Linked DNA regions of Homo sapiens: all the other regions are linked to region 4. Evidence: promoter capture Hi-C in human tissues and cell types (Jung and others, 2019). All regions are on one chromosome and are shown on one strand. The core of a region is centred on a gene start or on the middle of the fragment in contact, and the rest is flanking DNA. Distances in the headings are between cores, read along the strand shown.

Region 1 (4,959 bases), core at 2,405-4,904, 640 kb after region 4:
CCTTCAATCTGGCTGATGAATGGAGGGGCATGTGTAGCACTGGGGAAGATGGGGCCTAGGCTCGCTCTGAATGGAAGCCTGAGTATCTCTGTACATTGTTAAGCACTAGACAGTTCTCACAGTTCAAATTAAAATTTTCAGCCCAAGAAAGAGATTCCAGCTAGTCCTTCCAGGACAAAAATCCCAGCTGAGAAGGAATCCCACCGGGATGTTCTCCCTGACAAACCTGCCCCGGGTGCTGTCAATGTGCCGGCCGCCGGAAGCCACTTGGGCCAGGGCAAGCGGGCGATCCCTGTTCCAAACAAGGTGAGTTGGCTGCTGGGGCCCAAACTTGTGGTTGCTGGGAATGAGGTGGCAGCTGTGTGTACAAGTGCTTTGGATTAAAATCCCAGCATTTTGGGAGGCCAAGGTGGGAGGATCACTTGAGCCCAGGAGTTCAAGACCAGCCTGAGCAACATGATGAAACCCATCTCTACAAAAAATACAAAAATTAGCTGGGCATGGTGGTGAGCAACGGCAGTCCCAGCTACTCAGGAGGCTGAGGTGGGATGATTGCTTGAGCCCAGGAGGTCGAGGCTGCAGTGAGTCATAATCACGCCACTGCACTCCAGGTTGGGTGACAGAATGAGACCCTGTCTCAAAAAAAAAAAAAAAAAAGAGGTGGAAAAGTTGAAAATACACCCACAAGAGGCAGCCTGCAAAATACATGCAAAGAATACTGGCTTCGCAGTGTGCACTGATGGCTAGCCTCTGCCCTGGGAGCTGTGTGGGTTGGGAAAAGTCAGCGTCTCGGAGCCCCAGTTTGTAGGTGGGGATATTCCGTTTCCCTCATGTAGAGTTCTTGAACAGATGACATGAGATGTTGATGTTTTGAAAACAGCAGCTGGGTGCAGTGGCTCACACATGTAATCTCAGCACTTTGGGAGGCTGAGGCGGGAGGATCACTTGAGCCCAGGAGTTTGAGACCAGCCTGGGCAACATAGTGAGGCCCCCATCTCCATTAAAAAATAAAAATCAGCCAGGCATGGTGGTGCATGCCTGTGGTCCCAGCTATTTGGGAGGTTGAGGTGGGAGGATTGCTTGAGCCCAGGAGGTCAAGGCTGCAGTGAGCTGTGATCATGCCACTGCATTCCATTCCAGCCTGGGCAACAGAGTGAGACCCTGTCTAAAAAAAAAAAAAAAAAAAAGGAAAAGAAAGAAAATTGCGGTTCCTCACAGGCATGGAGACTACCAGCCACATCTTTGCCACTTATTTTCTGGCATTGGCGGTAAACCAAGCTGTGTGTACTGGCAGTTCTTGTTAGAACTGCCCAAAGCTGGGCCCTGCAGCTGCTGACTCATGGGGTCTGGGTTGGGGCCCCAAATCTGCATTTCTGCTAGCTCCCTAATGTGGTCCTCATGCAGGGGTTTGAAGACTACACTTTGAGAAGTGCTGCTTGACTTTTTTCTTCTTTAAATTCAAGATGATAATTATTAGATTATTTTAAAATAGTAAAAACACCAACTTTTGTTGTTGTTGTTGTTGTTGAGACGGAGTCTCACTCTGTCGCCCAGGCTGGAGTGCAATGGCACGAGCTCAGCTCACTACAACCTCCACCTCCCGGGTTCAAGCAATTCTCCTACCTCAGCCTCCCGAGTAGCTGGGACTACAGGTGCCTGCCACCATGCCCAGCTAGTTTTTATATTTTTAGTAGAGACAAGGTTTCACCATATTGGCCAGGCTGGTCTCAAACTCCTGACCTTGTGATCCTCCGGCCTCAGCCTCCCAAAGTGCTGGGATTACAGGCGTGAGCCACCGTGCCCAGCCAAAAACCCCTTACTTTTGCAGACACAAGTAATAGGTAAATAACGAGATCTTTGCTGATTCTGTTTTTTCACATTTTGCCCCAGTTGGGGCTGAAGAAGACCCTGTTAAAAGCACCCGGCTCTACCAGCAATCTCGCAAGGAAGTCCTCCTCGGGGCCTGTTTGGAGCGGGGCATCCAGTGCGTGCACATCCCCAGCAGTGGGCAAAGGTGAGGCAGCCGGCATCATGCTTGGACCCACATCTGGCCAGGTGAGGCCTGGAGTGCTGCTCAGGCCTTGGAGACTGTTTCTGCAGAACCACTTAGGCTTGGCAGGACGTCCCGGAGGGCGTGCTGTGTGCGGTGGACCAGGCTGTGGACTGAGTTGCTGTACCTGCCCTCAGTGCCTCTGTCCCATGAGGAGGGCACACTCAGATGGGTGGCTTCAGTCTACGGGGTACACATGGCCAGAAAGCATGTATGATACCCCGTGCCTGAGAACATGGACACTGGAATCACCCTCATGTCCATGTCATGAGACACCAGTTTTAAAATAGGACTATTCCAGATAATGTAGGGCATATGGCCCCATAACTCCTGGGTGCCTGTTTAAATCCATGCTCCCACACCTGTTTGAGGTCAAGCCACATTTCAACCTTGCCAAGCCACAGCTGCCATCTAGTGGTAAGGGAAAGCCTTCGCCTTTCTGCTCTTCAGAGCGAAATCCTCTTCGAGGTGCATTGGCCATGTGGCGTCTCGGGGTCGTTCAGGGCAGCATGGTGTGGATTGTGTTCACAAAATGTAAAAAGTGGGCCGGGCGCAGGGGCTCACGCCTGTGATCCCAGCACTTTGGCAGGCCAAGATGGGTGGATCGCTTGACCCCTGGAGTTTGAGACCAGCCTGGCCAACATGGTGAAACCCTGTCTCTACTAAAAACACAAAAACTAGCCGGGCATGGTGGCGGGTGCCTGTAGTCCCAGCTACTCGGGAGACTGGGCCACGAGAATGGCTTGAACGCGGGAGGCAGAGGTTACCATGAGCCGAGATTGCATCACTGCACTCCGTCTCAAAAAAAAAAAAAAAAATGATAAGTGTGAACTCTCTAATCAGATTGATCTGATCTGGAATTCTGACTCTGCCATTCTGTGATTAAGAGAGGTTTGTGTCCTTATCTTTATAGACTGAGGTGATGACCTCCTGAGATCAAGCAATCCTCCCACCTCAGCCTCCTGAGTAGCTGGGACTACAGGCACATGCCACCACACCCGGCTAATTTTTGTGGGTTTTTTTTTTTTGAGATGGAGTCTCACTCTATTGCCAGGTTGGAGTGCAGTGGCGCAATCTTGGCTCACTACAACCTCTGCCTCCCGGGTTCGAGTGATTCTCCTGCCTCAGCCTCCCAAGTAGCTGGGACTACAGGCACCTGCCACCACGCCCGGCTAATTTTTGTATTTTTAGTAGTGACGGGGTTTCACCATGTTGGCTAGGATGGTCTCGATCTCTTGACCTCGTGATCCGCCCGCCTTGGCCTCCCAAAGTGCTAGGATTACAGGCACGAGCCACTGCGCCTGGCCCACATTTTTGTGTTTTTTGTAGAGAGGATGGTCTCACTATATTAGCCAGGCTGGTCTCGAACTCCTGGCCTTGAGTGATCTCTTGCCTTGGCCTCCCAAAGTGTTTGGATTACAGGCGTGAGCCACCACTCCTGGGCTAAAGTTTTTCTTTAAGAATCCTTTACCAGATCGTCTGCGTATATTGGTAGCTCAGTATGTATTACCCTAGTTTATCTGGTCTTCTATTTTAAATAGTGCTTATGGTTAATATGACGCAGCCTCCTTGTAATTTTAAAGGAATCAACCAGTAACAATTGCGTCTTTTTTCCTTGTTCCCTGCCCACCTCTGTGACCAGACAGGTGAGACATGTGACTAGACTATCCCCTTCCATCTGCTCAACTAATGTAGATTTCTCCTGCCAACATAATCAACGAAGATAGGAGAGCTTGAATTTATGCATGCTTATGTACATGTTAGTAATTATTTTGAGAATAAGTACCTTAGAATACACTCAGCTAAGCTAAAAGCTGCCTGAGCCATCCTGTGTTTGATGATGTTGCCTGAAGGGCTTATAGAATATTGTTAATGTGTCTTATGTTTAAGGTAGATATGCTAAAGACAGCATAACTTCTGTGTGTTTGTTAAATAGCTTCATACTTTTATAATAATGTGATTTTTGTGTGTATACCTTCTAGCTAAATCAAGTGAATTTGCAAGTATTCCTGCAAATAGCTCCCGGCCTCTGTCAAACATCAGCAAGTCAGGCAGAATGGGACCCGCCATGCTGCGGCCAGCTCTGCCTGCAGGCCCTGTGGGGGCATCCTCCTGGCAGGCCAAGCGGGTCGATGTTTCTGAGCTGGCAGCGGAGCAGCTCACGGCACCCCCCTCAGCATCCCCCACCCAACCCCAGACTCCGGAAGGTGGCGGCCAGTGGCTGAACTCCAGTTGCGCTTGGTCAGAATCTTCTCAATTGAATAAGACTAGAAGTATCAGACGGCGAGATTCCTGTCTAAATTCCAAGACAAAGGTTATGCCTACTCCTACAAATCAATTTAAAATTCCTAAGTTTTCTATTGGTGAGTAATAGATACATTTTAATGTGTCTTTAAAAAATACTGAAGAAATTGCATTTAAAGTTTTAAACAATTATTGATGGCATTGATGGTGTTTTTAGTTCTTTCCTCCAACAGTGCTTTCAGGTGTGACCCGCTGTCTTCTCGCCCACGTTGTTTTGGGGGGTCACTGGAGGCTCCCTGAATGTCTTACGTTCGTTCCTGTGTGTGTGACACCCCAATGCTCGTAGGCTGCTTGTAAGGTTTTCTCTTTAGTGTTACTGTCGGGAATTTGATTATTATGTGCTTTGAGGTGGCTTTCTTTGCCTTTATCCCGCTGAGGGTTTCTTAAGCTTCTTTGATCTGTGGGTTGGTTTTTTTCAGCAAATTTGGAAAACGTTGGCCATTATTTCTTCAGCTATCTTTTCCTCTTTCCACTTTATTTCCTAGGACTCTAATCACATCTATTTCAGGCCTCTTGACGTTGTCTCACAGGACACCGAAGCTCTGTTCTTTTTTTTATTTCAGCCTTTTTTCTTTTTCTTATCTTTTTTCTTTTCTTTCTTTCTT
Region 2 (4,482 bases), core at 1,581-4,080, 670 kb after region 4:
CTAACACCTGCCTCACGGGGTGACTGGAGGGATTAGATGACATAGTACATACTGATGAGTACGTGCTCAGCACATACGAGGTACGCAGAAAACAGTAGTGGCTATTAGTTTATATTGTTAATAACCATAGCTATTATGGTAGGTACAGTAAGTGCCAAAGAGAAGGGTAGGCGGACCATAAGCAGAAATAGTTGTGAGGAAGGGAGAGTGGAGGAAAGCATCCTAGAGATGGAGGTGCTCAGCTGAGTCGAAAGAAGAGTAGGATGTCACTAAGCAGAGACTTGGAGGTGGAGGCGGCCCTCCCGGCACAGTCAGCAGTGCAAGCAGAATCACAGAGGCCTGCAAGTGTGGGCTGGTTCTGGCCAGATGGAGATGGAAGGAGAGGAGCCTGGAGCACGTTTAGCCCTGATTATGGAAGATGCTATACCAGGGGCTTTAGACTGTTAGGTAGACATTAGTCTGGTTGATCTGGGATAGGGGTGGTCTTTCGCGTGTGGTGGTGTAGTTTTGACAAAGCTTTGTCATCAAATTTCTGTTGTTTTGGGTACTATATGAAGCCTTCTTCAGCAGTCATTTGCCCTGTCTTTCATTACATTCAGCCTACCTAAACGAACCAGCTTTCTCATACAGGGTCTGCACCTGTGTAGTTTGCTAAGGTGGTGTAGGGCTAAAGTTGGCCTTTCCAATATTTGGGTGAATATTTTGTTACAATCGAAAAGGTAGAAAATAGGTCATAAACTAGGTGGTACAGCTCTTACAAAATATCGAAAATTTTAATTATCTTTATATCTGATCACTTAGAATCTAAGTCTTAGATAGTAACTAGAAATAACTTTTGAAAAGAGTTTCCTTTTTTGATAACTGAATGGTGCTTTGAAAAATTTTGTTGAGTTTCGACTATTCCTTCGTGTATTCCACACACACTGGCTGATCCCCTCCTGCTAGGTATTGTGCTGATACATAGATGGGGACACAAAGATGAGAAAATACCACCTCGTTAATCTTGGGGACTCAGGCACCAAGATGGAAACCGGATCCCTGAAGCCACATGGCAAAGCAGGGACTGCCCGGCAGGCCAGGCACAGAGGCACAGGAGCACAGCGTGTGGGGAACTTCTCAGAGCTCAGAAATCACTGCCGTTTTACCGAAGGTTGATTTATGTATTCTCTTTAATTGACCTTCCCGCCCGCAGGTTACCAGGTGACAGGGGTGTTTATGAAGAACTGGGACTCACTGGATGAACATGGGGTCTGTACTGCCGACAAAGACTGTGAAGATGCTTACAGAGTTTGCCAGATCTTAGACATCCCTTTCCATCAAGTGTCCTACGTAAAGGAGTATTGGAATGATGTGTTCAGGTGAGTGCGGGTCACAGCACAAAGGAAGCTTCCTCACACTGTGGATCCTTGCAGTGGAAGGATCCGGTAACCAGCCAGACCGACGCCTGTGCTGCAGCCCAGCGCTCTCCCTCCACGGTGGTGCTGAAGACTGCAAGAGGCCTCAGCCACCCTCGGGGCTCTGTGTTAGAGGCGAGGCCTGGACCCCACAGCACACCCAGCTCTCTCACTCCTGTCATTTTGCCACTTGCCTGAAGTCTCTTTAATGCTTTCTTGGACCTTGAGCTGTTTCTGTTGCCCAGTTAGGATAGGGGAGCTAAGGCTGAGGGCTCCCCTGGAAGGTGAGCACCAATGCCTGTGTGCTATGTGGGTCAGCGATTAGGGGATTTCTGAGAAAGAGGTGATACATGGCCTGTGCCTCTGAAAACAAGAAACAAACAAAAACTTTTCTAAAATCCAATATAATCTCAATAATTAAGTGCTGTGTGCTAGGCGTGTGCCACATCTAGGAACATTAAGATGTCTTCACTGTGACCTGGCTCTGTAGGAGTTTGCGGTCTAGTTGGGAGGACATTATCTTCACAAGAGGTGACAGTGATGCGTGGCACGCAGGAAGTACCAGTGATGCTATCAGTCACTGAACCCAGAGGAGGGAGAAACTTGCAGTGTGGAGTAATCAAGAAGGCTTCACCGGAGAGGAGGGGTTGCAAACAAAGTTGTAGAGAAGGGACTCCAAATGGGGTAACGAGAGCAGCGTGAAGGGGAGAAGAAATGCTGATTGTGTATTTCAGGACCGTTGTAAAGTTTGGCTGGACTTTTGTTCCTGCAGTGGAAGGAGTGTAGGGCTCATCCTCTGGTGAGCCCTGACTGTGATGAATGTCGGGCAGTTGTCGAAGGCGTCTGACACAGCAGGCCATGTGCGCGGGACAGGCTGCCCCTGCCTGAGTGGGCTTTAGGGGCAGAAGAGCCTTGGGTTGAGTCCTGACTGTAGCTTATTATATGACCTTGGGCAATTTACTTGACTTTGTTTTTTTAATTGAAAAAAATTCTCTTTTTTTCCTGCCAACAAAGACCCAGAAGAGATACTTGACTTTTCTAAGCCCCAATTTTCTCATCTTTAAAATGAGGATAACACTGATGCCTCACAGGGTTATGAAAGAATTGAGATTAGGTTCTAGTATGTATGCCTGGTATATTAGTAAGCAGTCAATAAACATAGCTGTTTTTCTTTTCTATTTTTTTTTGAGACAGAGCCTCGCTCTGTTGCCCAGGCTGGAGTGCAGTGGCGCAATCTTGGCTCACTGCAACATCTGCCTCCCAGGTTCAAGCGATTCTCATGCCTCAGCCTCCCAAGTAGCTGGGATTATAGGCATGCACCACCACGCCCGGATAATTTTTGTATTTTTAGTAGAGACAGGGTTTCGCCATGTTGGCCGGGCTAGTCTCAGACTCCTGACCTCAGAAGATCCACTCGTCTCAGCCTCCCAAAGTGCTGGGATTACAGGCGTGAGCCACCACGCCAGCCTGCTATTTTTATTTTCATTATTAAAAAGATGAGTCTGGGGAGCTAAGCTATGAGGACGCAAAGGCATAAAAATGATATAATGGACTCTGGGGTGAGGGATAAAAGACTACACATCGGGTACAATGTCCACTGCTTGGGTGACGGGTACACCAAAATCTCAGAAGTCACCACTGAAGAACTTATCCATGTGACCAAATACCAGCTGTTGCCCAAAAAACCATTGAAATAACAATAAAACGAAATTTAGAGAGATTAAGTAAATTGACTATGGTCACCTAAATAATCAACGGAAGAGCTTGAATATGAACCCTCTGTGACTCTATGCTATAACATATGGGTGTCGTATATATTAACAACATGGACAAAACTGATGGCTGAATTTTCCTGGGGAAAGTTACCTGTAGAATGCATGATAAATGCATTAAAAACTTATCTGTAGAATGCATGATAAATGCATTAAAAACTTCTGCAGTTTTCTCGGGGACATAAGAAAAAAAAAAGAGTGTGGCGGCCAAATACAGGATAAATCTGGGGGAAGACCAAAGGCAGAGAGTCTCAGGAAGTGCTGTTGCTGGAGATTTGGACTTCATGGGGAGGGAGTGTGGGAGTGGAAGGTGAGGGCTGGCTTGTTGGACCCAGAGGACAAGTCCACCGGGCAGTAGATCTGAGGTGCTTGTTAAACACAGACCTGGACCGAGGTCTGGGGGCGGCCCTGGAATCTGCTTTAATAAGCACTTCAGCTGTGCTGGTGGTGTGGGGGGTTGTCAGGGTCTTTCTTTGAGAAAAGGTGTGATGCGGCTTAGGGACTGATGTGTGTGGGAGACCAGAGAGGAGAGGAGTCAGCAGTAGTTTCAAGATCAAGGCTGGGTGGCTGGGGAAAGCTGGTTTAGGGGATTCCTCATGAGTACTGTAGAGTTTGAGGGGACAACAGGGAATCCAAGTGAGCTTACACTTCACCTGCCAGCACAGCTTTTTCAGAACGTACGAGTGGATGCGATTTTTGAAGTTTAGCTCAGCTGAGGCCAGATAGGAAGAGTGACTTGAATAGTATGGCAAATTAGGAGCGGAGCTGGGATTAAACCCCAGAATTAGGAGCGGAGCTGGGATTAAAACCCAGAATTAGGAGCGGAGCTGGGATTAAACCCCAGAATTAGGAGCGGAGCTGGGATTAAACCCCAGAATTAGGAGCGGAGCTGGGATTAAACCCCAGAATTAGGAGCGGAGCTGGGATTAAACCCCAGAATTAGGAGCGGAGCTGGGATTAAACCCCAGAATTAGGAGCGGAGCTGGGATTAAACCCCAGAATTAGGAGCGGAGCTGGGATTAAAACCCAGCTTTCCAGGCCAGTGCTTGCTGCCGCCTTCTGGCGCTGCTTGATAGGGACTGAGAGAAGGAGGCGGCCGGGTAGAGTCTTTTCCCATCTCTGGGGCTGCCCCCGAGGTCGCCCCTGGCTCCAGCCAGCCTGCCCTCTGCCCTCGCCCAGTACCAGCTGCCCGTGGAGGCATTGGTCTTTCCGCTGAAGACTCACTTCTCTAGTAGGGCTCTCTAGCTCAGAGATTTCTTTTGCATTCTTTCATTCAAGACCCACTGGCCTTCAAGGATCAGAGTCCAGATACGTTT
Region 3 (4,720 bases), core at 431-2,930, 580 kb before region 4:
GAGATCATGCCACTGCACTCCAGGTTGGTGACAGAGCAAGACTCTGTCTCAAAAAAATAAAAATAAAATAAAATAGTATGTCCCAGTCAAACAAACAGCACAAACAACAACTGGCCAGCATTAATGCTAGAATAGACATCATAAGAGAGACAGAACAGACTCTTTGTGACAAAAAGATACCAAATTGTAAACAGGACCTATGGTCACAAGGGTTGAATGCTGCGCCCCTACACTTAAAAAACAGACGAGGAGCCAGGTGCAGTGGCTCACGCCTGTAATCCCAGCCCTTTGGGAGGCCGAAGTGGATGGATCATGAGGTCAAGAGTTCAAGACCAGCCTGGCCAACATAGTGAAACCCTGTCTCTACTAAAAATATAAAAACTAGCTGGGTGTGGTGGCACATGCCTGTAGTCCTAGCTACTTGGGAGGCTGAGACAGGAGAATTGCTTGAACCCGGGAGGTGGACGTTGCAGTGAGCTGAGACCATGCCATTGCACTCCAGCCTAGGCGACAGAGTGAGGCTCCATCTCGAAAAAAAAAAAAATTAAAAAACAAAAAACAAAACAAACAAACAAACAAAAAAATGAGGTTCTACCTGCCACAAGGTTTTTCCTTGTTCTCCAGCAGCTAAATAAGCCCTGGCCTCAAGATGAGCAAGATTCAAACACTTGCAACTCATCTAGCTCCCAGATGCTAACTAATGACCTCCTGTTCCACCAGCCCTAATTCCAGCTTTGACTGGACAAGACACTGGTTTCTGTAACTTTCTCCTGATAAGAAGGCCACCCACCATGGACTGGCACCGGCGGGTTTACAGAGTGCACTTTCAGGCCTTCCTGTCCTGAAAGGATCTTTTGGGCCTGATTGTAATACATTTAAATGTGGAGTCTCCATCCCAAAGTGAACATGGGTCACCTGTGACGTGCATGATTATTCAGTACGCATGAGTCAGGACACCTTCATGAATATTCATAGCTCCTCCTGTAACCTGTTGAATATGTATGATTAGCCAGCCTGGTCAGGCCCAACCCCTCCTCCTTCAAAGAGCCTGTCTCTGGTCTTGGCCGGAGGTATACTTCCCACCTTGCTCCATGGCCACCTTGCAGGGTGGAACCCTTTAGAAGAAATAAAGTCTCTTCTCTTTTTCTTTTTTTTTTTTAATTGAGGAGGAGTCTGTCTCTGTCACCCAGGCTGGAGTGCAGTGGTGCAATCTCAGTTCACTGCAACTTCTACCTCCCGGGTTCAAGCCACTCTCCTGCCTCAGCCTCCCAAGTAGCTGGGACTACAGGCATGTGCCACCACGCCTGGCTAACTTTTTGTATTTTTAGTAGATACAGGGTTTCACCGTGTTAGCCAGGATGGTCTCGATCTCCTGACCTTGTGATCCACCCACCTAGGCCTCCCAAAGTGCTAGGATTACAGGCGTGGGCCACCACGCCCGGCCAGTCTTCTCTCTTTTTCTAAATGTGTATATAGTGATTTATTTTTAAGTGAACAGGGAGAAGAAGGATGCACTGATGAAGCTCTTTGCCTTAAGCGGATTTGGAATTGAGAAAGGTCACTCTAGTAGATGGGGTGGAAGAGAGGTCTGAGAAGCCAGCCAAATATACAATTTAGAAAACAGGTTTTGACACATATAGCGTTACCCAGGGCCACAACTTCTTGAGTAAGAAACCTGATGAGGATTACAGATGTTTTGGAGATTGAAGGCAGCTTTCCCAGGGCATAGCAACAACCTCTGAAGATCTCTTTCTTGGAAACATTGGCCAGGATGGTTTATGATGCAGAATAACACCTGCTTTGCTGCAGCTGCAGGAGAGGAGGGCCCCCTTTCTCCATAGCTGGCTGAGGTTTCTGTCTCTAGCAGTCAGGTTCAAAGCCAAGTACTGGAGTTCTCCTAGCATGAGAGGGAATGAGACAAGGCTGAGAGGCTCCAAACGTGTCATAAGGAGAGGAGACCAGGGGCAGAAGGTTGTCGATCAATGGAATGTTGTGTATGCCATGTTTTGCATTGGCAGTGATCAATAAATATTGGATGAATGAACAAGACAGGGATTCAGGGACAGTTCACCAGGGTCTGAGCAAGACCTGCAGCACAGCCAGCTCACCCTGTCTAGCCCTCAAAGCACCCATGAGGCTCATTCCACAGGGACAGCTGCACCTGAGCTTGAGCTGGGGACAGACTTTAAGGGGTTGGTGAGTGGCCCAGTCACAAAGGGAGGAAGGTTTTATCCAAAGGCCATTCATTTCTATACTCCCTCTTTCCACCTAGTAAGTTTGTTTCTAAATATCTTTGTCACCTTCTGTCACTGTCATATTGCAGGACTCAGCATGTATGGGAAAAGATGTAAAATATCTCATTAATAATTTCTGTGTGGACTAGGTGCAGTGACTCACGACTCTAATCCTAGAGCTTTAGGAGACAGAGGCAGGAGGATTGCTGGAGGCCGATTTCAAGACCAGCCTGGACAACATAGCAAGAGCCCGTCCCTATAAAAAATTTAAAAATTAGCTGGGCATGGTGGTGCACATCTGTGGTCCCAGCTACTCAAGAGGCTGAGGCAGGAGGATCTCTTGAGCCCAGGAGGTTGAGGCTGCAGTAAGCCATAATCATGTCACTGCACTCCAGCCTGGGTGACAGAGCAAGACCTTGTGTCTAAAAAATAACAACAATAATACAAATTTGTATGTGGATTGCATGTTGAATGGATAATATTTCAGATATATTGAACTAAGATGAAGATTAAAGTTAATTTCACTTTGGCTAGGCACAACGGCTTACTCCTATAATCCCAGCAATTTGGGAGGCCAAGGCAGGAGGATCACTTGAGCCCAGGACTCCGAGACCAGCCTGGGCCACACAGCAAACCCCATCTCTACAAAAAATACAAACATTAGCTGGGTGTGCTGGCGTGCACCTATAGTCACAGCTACTTGGGAGGCTGAGGTGGGAGGATTACTTGAGCCCAGGAGGCCGAGGCTGCAGTGAGCTATGAATGAGCCACTGCATTCCATCCTCGGTGACAGAGCAAGACTGTCTCAAAATTAAAATAAAATTAAATTAACTTCATTTGATTTTTTCTCTCTTTAATGGGGCTTCTGGAGAATTTTAAATGGCCAATGTGGCTCACTTCTCTGGACAGTGCTGGTCTAGAGTTGCTTGCAGCTGTACAAATCGTTCTTTTTTTTTTTTTTTTTTTTTTTTTGAGATGGAGTCTCACTCTGTCACACAGGCTGGAGTGCAATGGCATGATCTTGGCTCACTGCAACCTCCGCCTCTCGGGTTCAAACTATTCTCCTGCCTCAGCCTCCCAAGTAGCTGGGACTACAGTCATGTGCCACCATGCCTGGCTAATCTTTTGTATTTTTAGTAGAGATGGGGTTTCACCATGTTGGCCAGCCAGGCTGGTCTCGAACTCCCAACCTCAAGTGATCCACCCTCCTCGGCCTCCCAAACTGCTGGGATTACAGGAGTGAGACACCGCACCCAGCCCTTATCTGCTTTTTGACTGAAGTTTATTTACAGGAGACAAACACCATTCCCTCCACAATTAAGGCTAAAGGCCAACCCTAGCAAGCAGAGAGAACTAATTAAAAAGTCTGAGAGTTGGAATTGTGTTTGTATTTCTCCCGTCAACTCGAATAATCGGTTTGCATTCTCCTCTCCCAGATTCCTGAGAAGCCACGGCTGCCGATGACTCCGACGAGTGTTTGCATTTCCAGAGCCTGTGAAGTTCTGTGCCTGCAGCTACGGACTTGGCCTGTTGGCGTTTTCATAGTCTTGCCCTTGCAAACAAGGCAATCAGTCTACTAAGTTAACAAAAGCTTACCATTCACAGTAAAAGCAAAAGAAATGAAAAAAAAAAATGTAAGGAGCCCTCCGGTAAGTGATTTTCCTATTGCTTCTGTCTACTGAGATAGTGATTTCTTTGGTTCTCGTGACCAACCACACACACACACACACACACACACACACCCCTCTATAGAAGAAATGTGTGAAACTCATGCTTCCAGTAACAATCTATACATTGATTTTTTTTTCCTCTGCATCAAAATATGTCACCCTTCAAAGCTTGGGCCCCAACCAATAGAAACTAAAATCCAGTTCCAGAGAAATCTATGGCTGCTAATTAAACTCTTACTCAAAGCAAAACATAAAGGATTTACCTCTTGATTCTTCTAGTTAGTGCTGATGGATTATTTCCTTTACACGTGTTTTAAAATCGCAGCTTACCGGCTGCAGGTGGTTTCTGTGGACCCTGAACCACCTGGTTCCCTCAAGTGTGCACCTGCACGCGGCACCGTCCCACACAGAGGGTGGACCTGCAGAGCTCAGGCAGGGAGGTGGGCGTCTACGCGGATTCACTCGACACGCTGATGGGACACGCTCACGGCGTGCGGAGGCCAGGAGGGAAAGGGTCAGGGCCAGGCACAAAGTCTGAGTCGGGGAGGGGCAAGTTCGTGGCAAGAAAGCCCCACCCAGAGACAGGTCGAGAGAGCAGGTGCCCTGTAAAGTGGGGCGCTCCGGGTTCTTGTCCTGCCTCTGCCGCTCGCTCGCTGACGACCTGGGAGAAGTCGCTAAGCTCTGGAACTCCTCTGCTTCTCAGCAGCAAGACAACTGGCCTCGGGGGCCCTGCGGATCCCTCCAGCTCCGGGGCTGCTTCCTTACTTTCTTGTTTCTCCTTCAGTCAACAGATAAATGCCTGCCACGGACCAGGCA
Region 4 (4,594 bases), core at 1,297-3,796:
AATCATTAACCAACATTATTTCTTAAACCAATGAGAATTCATGACAAACAACCTTTTAAATCACCCTCTCTCCTGATTCGTCCTTTTTTCTTTAAAAAGTTGAGCTTCTCTTTCGTTCTCCAGAGCACTCCCCAAGGCAACTTGGATGTGTGTCCTGGACTGCAATGCTCACGTTGGCCCAAATAAACTCTTTATATTGATTTTACCTCAGCTTATTCCTTTTAAATAGACAGAGGACAATAAGGAGGTCAGTATGGCTGAAGCACAATGGAAGAGGAAGAGGCTAGTAGATGTGATTAGAGCCCACAGGGGCTGGAGGTGATGGCGAAGGAGGAGGCAGGTCATTTAGGGGCTTTTCTATTGGAAGAACTTGGCTTTTACTCTGAGTGAAATGGAAATCCCTTAGAGGGTTTTGGGCAGAGTTAAATGTTGAAATATTTTTTAAACGATCTAAAACGTAAGGAAGCAAGAGCAGAGGCCAAAAGACCAATCAGGAATATATTACAATATTCCAGGCAAGAAGTATGAATATTATAGGGAATGTTTTTCTGGGAATGTTACATTTGAGAATAAGAAAACTAAAGGCCAGGTTTTTTTGTTTGTTTGTTTGAGACAGAGTCTCCCTCTGTTGCCCAGGCTGGAATGCAGTGGTATGATCTCAGCTCAGTGCAACGTGTGCCTTCCAGGTTCAAGCAATTCCCTTGTCTCAGCCTCCCAAATGGCTGGGACTACAGGCACCCGCCACCATGCCTGGCTAATTTTTAGTAGAAAGGGGGTTTTGCCATGTTGGCCAGACTGATCTTGAACTCCTGACCTCAAGTGATCTGCCCGCCTCGGCCTCCCAAAGTGCTGGGATTACAGGCATGAGCCACCGTGTCTGGCCTAAAGATCAGGATTTTGGTGCATAACAAGTACATTTTACTATCCTGTGCTCCTCAAGGGAAAATTAAGAGATTTTTGCCCTGTTAGCTTAAGGAGTGTTAAACATTTTGCATTGTCTTGAGCACTGCTACTAATAAGTGATCTAATACCTGGCACATAGTACACCGCAATATTCGTGGAATGAATAAATACATACTCAATTAAATGGGTAAACTGAATGACAATATCAAGTAACTTGCTTGTGCAGCAGCATTCATTTCCCTCCCTCCTTTTTTTTTTTTTTTTTTTTTTTTTTTGATACAGGGTATCATTCTGCCACCCAGGCTGGAGTGCAGTGGTGTGATCACAGCTCACTGCAGCCTCGACCTCCTGGGCTCAAGTAATCCTCCTGCCTTGGCCACCCAAAGTGCTGGGATTACAGGCATGAGCCACCATGCCCCACCAGGATTCACTTTTTCTGCATACTCTGGTGGTGTTTATTGTTATCTTTACATTTTATTTAGCAAAGAATGTTAAAAGCGCCATGTTATAAGCACACTCCTACCCTCCAAGCAGAATGTAAAGGGTATGTATTTATATATTTTAAGTGGTCCCACAGCAATTTGTACAGTTATAGCAGTTCACAACTATACTCAGTTATGTTTGCTTCTCTCCTTCTCAATAGTCTGTGAGGTTCCTTCAGGTTTGGAACTGTCTTTTATTAATCTTTACATCTCCAGCACCTAGCGCAGGGCTTAGCAACAATTTTTGTTGAAAGTATATACACTGTAATAAAGGGCAGTGGAAAGAAAATATGTGAGTTATCAACACCAGCTAGAGAAGCCTTGTCTGATTCCTGTGAAATATATTCATTTCCCTTAGGAAAAAAAACAATTCTAACCCTATTGCTGTGTAACTTAGCTTCTTGACTTCGAACGGTATTTTAAGGCTTTGAGGAGCTGGAGCAATGTATACTCACTAGAGGCAAAGTGCCTGGTAAGTGGTCTGGTATTGATCAGCAATGATCAGTAAGTACTGGGAAGTGCGTTTTCAGGGCCTGAGACTTGCAAGCTAGTGACAGACCGCTCCAGCTTCCAGTGGACCCGGGCGGGGGCACTGATCAACCCACTTGAGCAGTGGGATCAAGGTCTTCAGCCTTAGCAGTGGGAGCCTCTGCCCGGCCCCCTTCGTTCCCGAGACCCTCAGTCAGCGTCTCCTCCCAAGAGGGTCCCCTCCACCCAGAATGTCCTCCCCTGGGGGAGACCACTCTGTCTGCGGGCCCCCTCCCACAGGAGGGCCCCTCTTCCTCAAGGTGAACCTCTGTCCCCGATACCCGCTCCCAAGACCGAGACCTTGTTACGGCCCCACCCTCCACAGGCCCCTTACCCCCCGGATCCCCTCCCCTGGGGGAGACCCCTCTGTCCGCGGGCACCCTCCTATAGGACGCGCCCCTCTTTCTCAGGGTGAACCTCTGGTTCCCGATACCCGCTCCCAAGACCGAGACCCTGTTACGGCCACATCAACACAGGTCCCCCTCCCCCCGGCGTCCCCTCCCCTCGGAGGAGCCCCGTCTGCGACGCTTCCCAGTCAATCACCCCCAGCATCCCTCCCCGCTCTCACCCAGAACTTCCGCCGCGCCCCCTCCCCTCAGGCGGGACTTCCGCCGGCGCCCCCTCCCCCGCGGCGCCGTCTCCTCCTCCCGCCTGAGGCGAGTCTGGGCTCAGCCTAGAGCTCTCCGGCGGCGGCGCAGCTTCAGGGCAGCGCGGGCTGCAGCGGCGGCGGCGGTTAGGGCTGTGTAGGGCGAGGCCTCCCCCTTCCTCCTCGCCATCCTACTCCTCCCTCCTCGTCATCCTCCCCCTTCGTCCTCCTCGCCTTCCTCCTCCTCGTCAGGCTCGACCCAGCTGTGAGCGGCAAGATGGCGGCGCCCAGGCCGCCGCCTGCCAGGCTGTCGGGCGTCATGGTGCCGGCGCCCATCCAAGACCTGGAGGCCCTGCGCGCGCTCACGGCGCTCTTCAAAGAGCAGCGGAACCGGTAACGGGTCCGGCCGGGGGGCTGCCCCGGGCAGGGGAGGGCGGCCGGGACTCCCGCGGCGGCCCCGGCCTGGACCCAGGCGCCGCCCCCGCCTCGCTGGAGACGCGGAGGGCGAGGCCTGCGCGGGCTGCCTGAGCGCCACCCAGGCCTCCCGACTCCCAGGCACCGCCTCGTGCTCGTGGGTCCCCGCGGGGCCTGGGGCGGGCGCCCCGCTCCCCCACCGCAGCCAGTCCGGGTGCGAAGCCGCGATCCCGGGAGCCCTTGCCGCGGCGTGCCGGTGATGTTGACCCAACACACGGTTAGGCCTCCCCTGTCATGTGCGAGGGCTGCGCCAGGCCCTGGCTGCAAGACCCACGCGGCCCCCAGAGTCATAAAGCGTGTGTTTTAGCGGGAGAGACCCGTGTTACGGACGCGGGAATTGGGCAGTTGCGGGGATGGCAGTCTCTAGGCATGGAGTGGGACTGGCACTCCTTTCTCCTCGGCGTTAGAGCCCAGGCTGCACCATCTGCCCTGGGGGCAGCGCTCTGTGCAGTGTGGAAGAGCACGGGCCTGGAGAGACCAGTCCAGTCCTGATGCCACTGAGGGGCAAGATAGCCAGGCAAAAAGAGAAGGTGCCCAGGAGTCGACAGTTGTGGATTTGGTTCCTGGCCTTGCAAGCTGCGTGTTACTGTGCAGTTTCTCCAGGCCTTAGAATTCTTGTCTAAAAATGGGACTATAATACACAGCTTAGTTGCTGGATTGTACAGAGGAATAAATGAAATAAAGTACGTGAAAATATAAAATGTGCGAAGCCCTCAGTCAATGCTTGTTTGATCTTGTTCTGTCCTCTGGGCCTCAGTTTTCTTGTCTATTTAATGGGAGTAAAGTTGAACAGTACCTCCCTGGTGATAGTGTCATAAGGAGTAAATGAGATATAATGCATATTAAATCCTTAGGACATACCTGTACATAGCACTAAATGTAGCTGATATTATCACTTAACACATTGATTGGTAGTTACCCATGTATCAGCTATTGTGCTAGGTGATGGGGTAGGAAAATGGAAAGTCCTTGCTCTCTCCTGTACTAGTATGTACAAGATAACACAGCTGTGGGGGTATGTATGTACAAAGCAGAGGGAACATTGAAGAAAGAAATACTGAGACTTGGGTCAGCCTAGGTGATCACTAGAGGACTTCCTCTCTTTAAACTAGACACCTGGTCTGAGCACTTCCTTTACCTCACATCACTTTGGGAAATGTGGAGCTGCTGAAGGAATGCTATTAATAAAAGTCCCTGGTACTGCTCTATGGGCCTTTGGGGGAGATGTATTTATTGATTTAATGCTTAGGCATTTCTGTATCATGATGGACCCTCCTTTTAGTTAATAACCCAGTCATCAACCATTTATTGAGCACCTACTATGAAACAGATTTTTTTGTTGGGGTCTGAGGGTACAGAGAGGAATGATGTGAGTGATCCCTTTTATCAGGCATATTTGGGAAATAGCTAAATAAACACATTGTAATGGAAATCTATACAAGAGGTGGTGGCACAGGGGAGCATGTGGATATGTTGGAAGATTGGCGAGCCAGGAGAGGCTTTTTAAGGTTATTTCAGGTGCTCGGTTATAGATGAGAGGACTAGAGGGAACAGTGTCTGCAAAGGGGCCATATGTTAATTTTGCAAAACCGATGAGACAATTAAGTAACATAGATAAGGT

What was found. The method cuts DNA at HindIII sites, captures the fragments that hold promoters and counts their contacts. A contact is called where the count stands out against the background at its distance.
Region 1: a contact is called between a fragment that was not itself captured here and the fragment with the promoter of ATXN10 in region 4, in 1 of the 25 tissues and cell types used here (dorsolateral prefrontal cortex).
Region 2: a fragment that was not itself captured here is called in contact with the fragment with the promoter of ATXN10 in region 4 in 2 of the 25 tissues and cell types used here (dorsolateral prefrontal cortex and pancreas).
Region 3: a contact is called between a fragment that was not itself captured here and the fragment with the promoter of ATXN10 in region 4, in 1 of the 25 tissues and cell types used here (bladder).

Annotation. Positions count from the first base shown.
Region 1 is chr22:46,312,000-46,316,958 of GRCh38, forward strand. GTSE1 (G2 and S-phase expressed 1) reads left to right here. Exons shown (of 12, transcript NM_016426.7): 5 at 142-306; 6 at 1,891-2,014; 7 at 4,033-4,413. Among named protein-coding and RNA genes, the nearest start is that of GTSE1, 18 kb to the left of the region's middle. The HindIII fragment of the contact is 7,099 bases long and covers 106-4,959 here.
Region 2 is chr22:46,336,587-46,341,068 of GRCh38, forward strand. It overlaps TRMU (tRNA mitochondrial 2-thiouridylase), which reads left to right. Exons shown (of 11, transcript NM_018006.5): 2 at 1,193-1,358. Among named protein-coding and RNA genes, the nearest start is that of TRMU, 3.1 kb to the left of the region's middle. The HindIII fragment of the contact is 3,759 bases long and covers 952-4,482 here.
Region 3 is chr22:45,087,033-45,091,752 of GRCh38, forward strand. No RefSeq gene overlaps it. Among named protein-coding and RNA genes, the nearest start is that of NUP50-DT, 74 kb to the right of the region's middle. The HindIII fragment of the contact is 4,535 bases long and covers 1-3,948 here.
Region 4 is chr22:45,669,288-45,673,881 of GRCh38, forward strand. It overlaps ATXN10 (ataxin 10), which reads left to right and starts at 2,547. Exons shown (of 12, transcript NM_013236.4): 1 at 2,547-2,892. The coding sequence starts at 2,777. RefSeq lists silencers at 2,220-2,409, 2,470-2,519, 2,850-3,179. The HindIII fragment of the contact is 16,564 bases long and covers 1-4,594 here.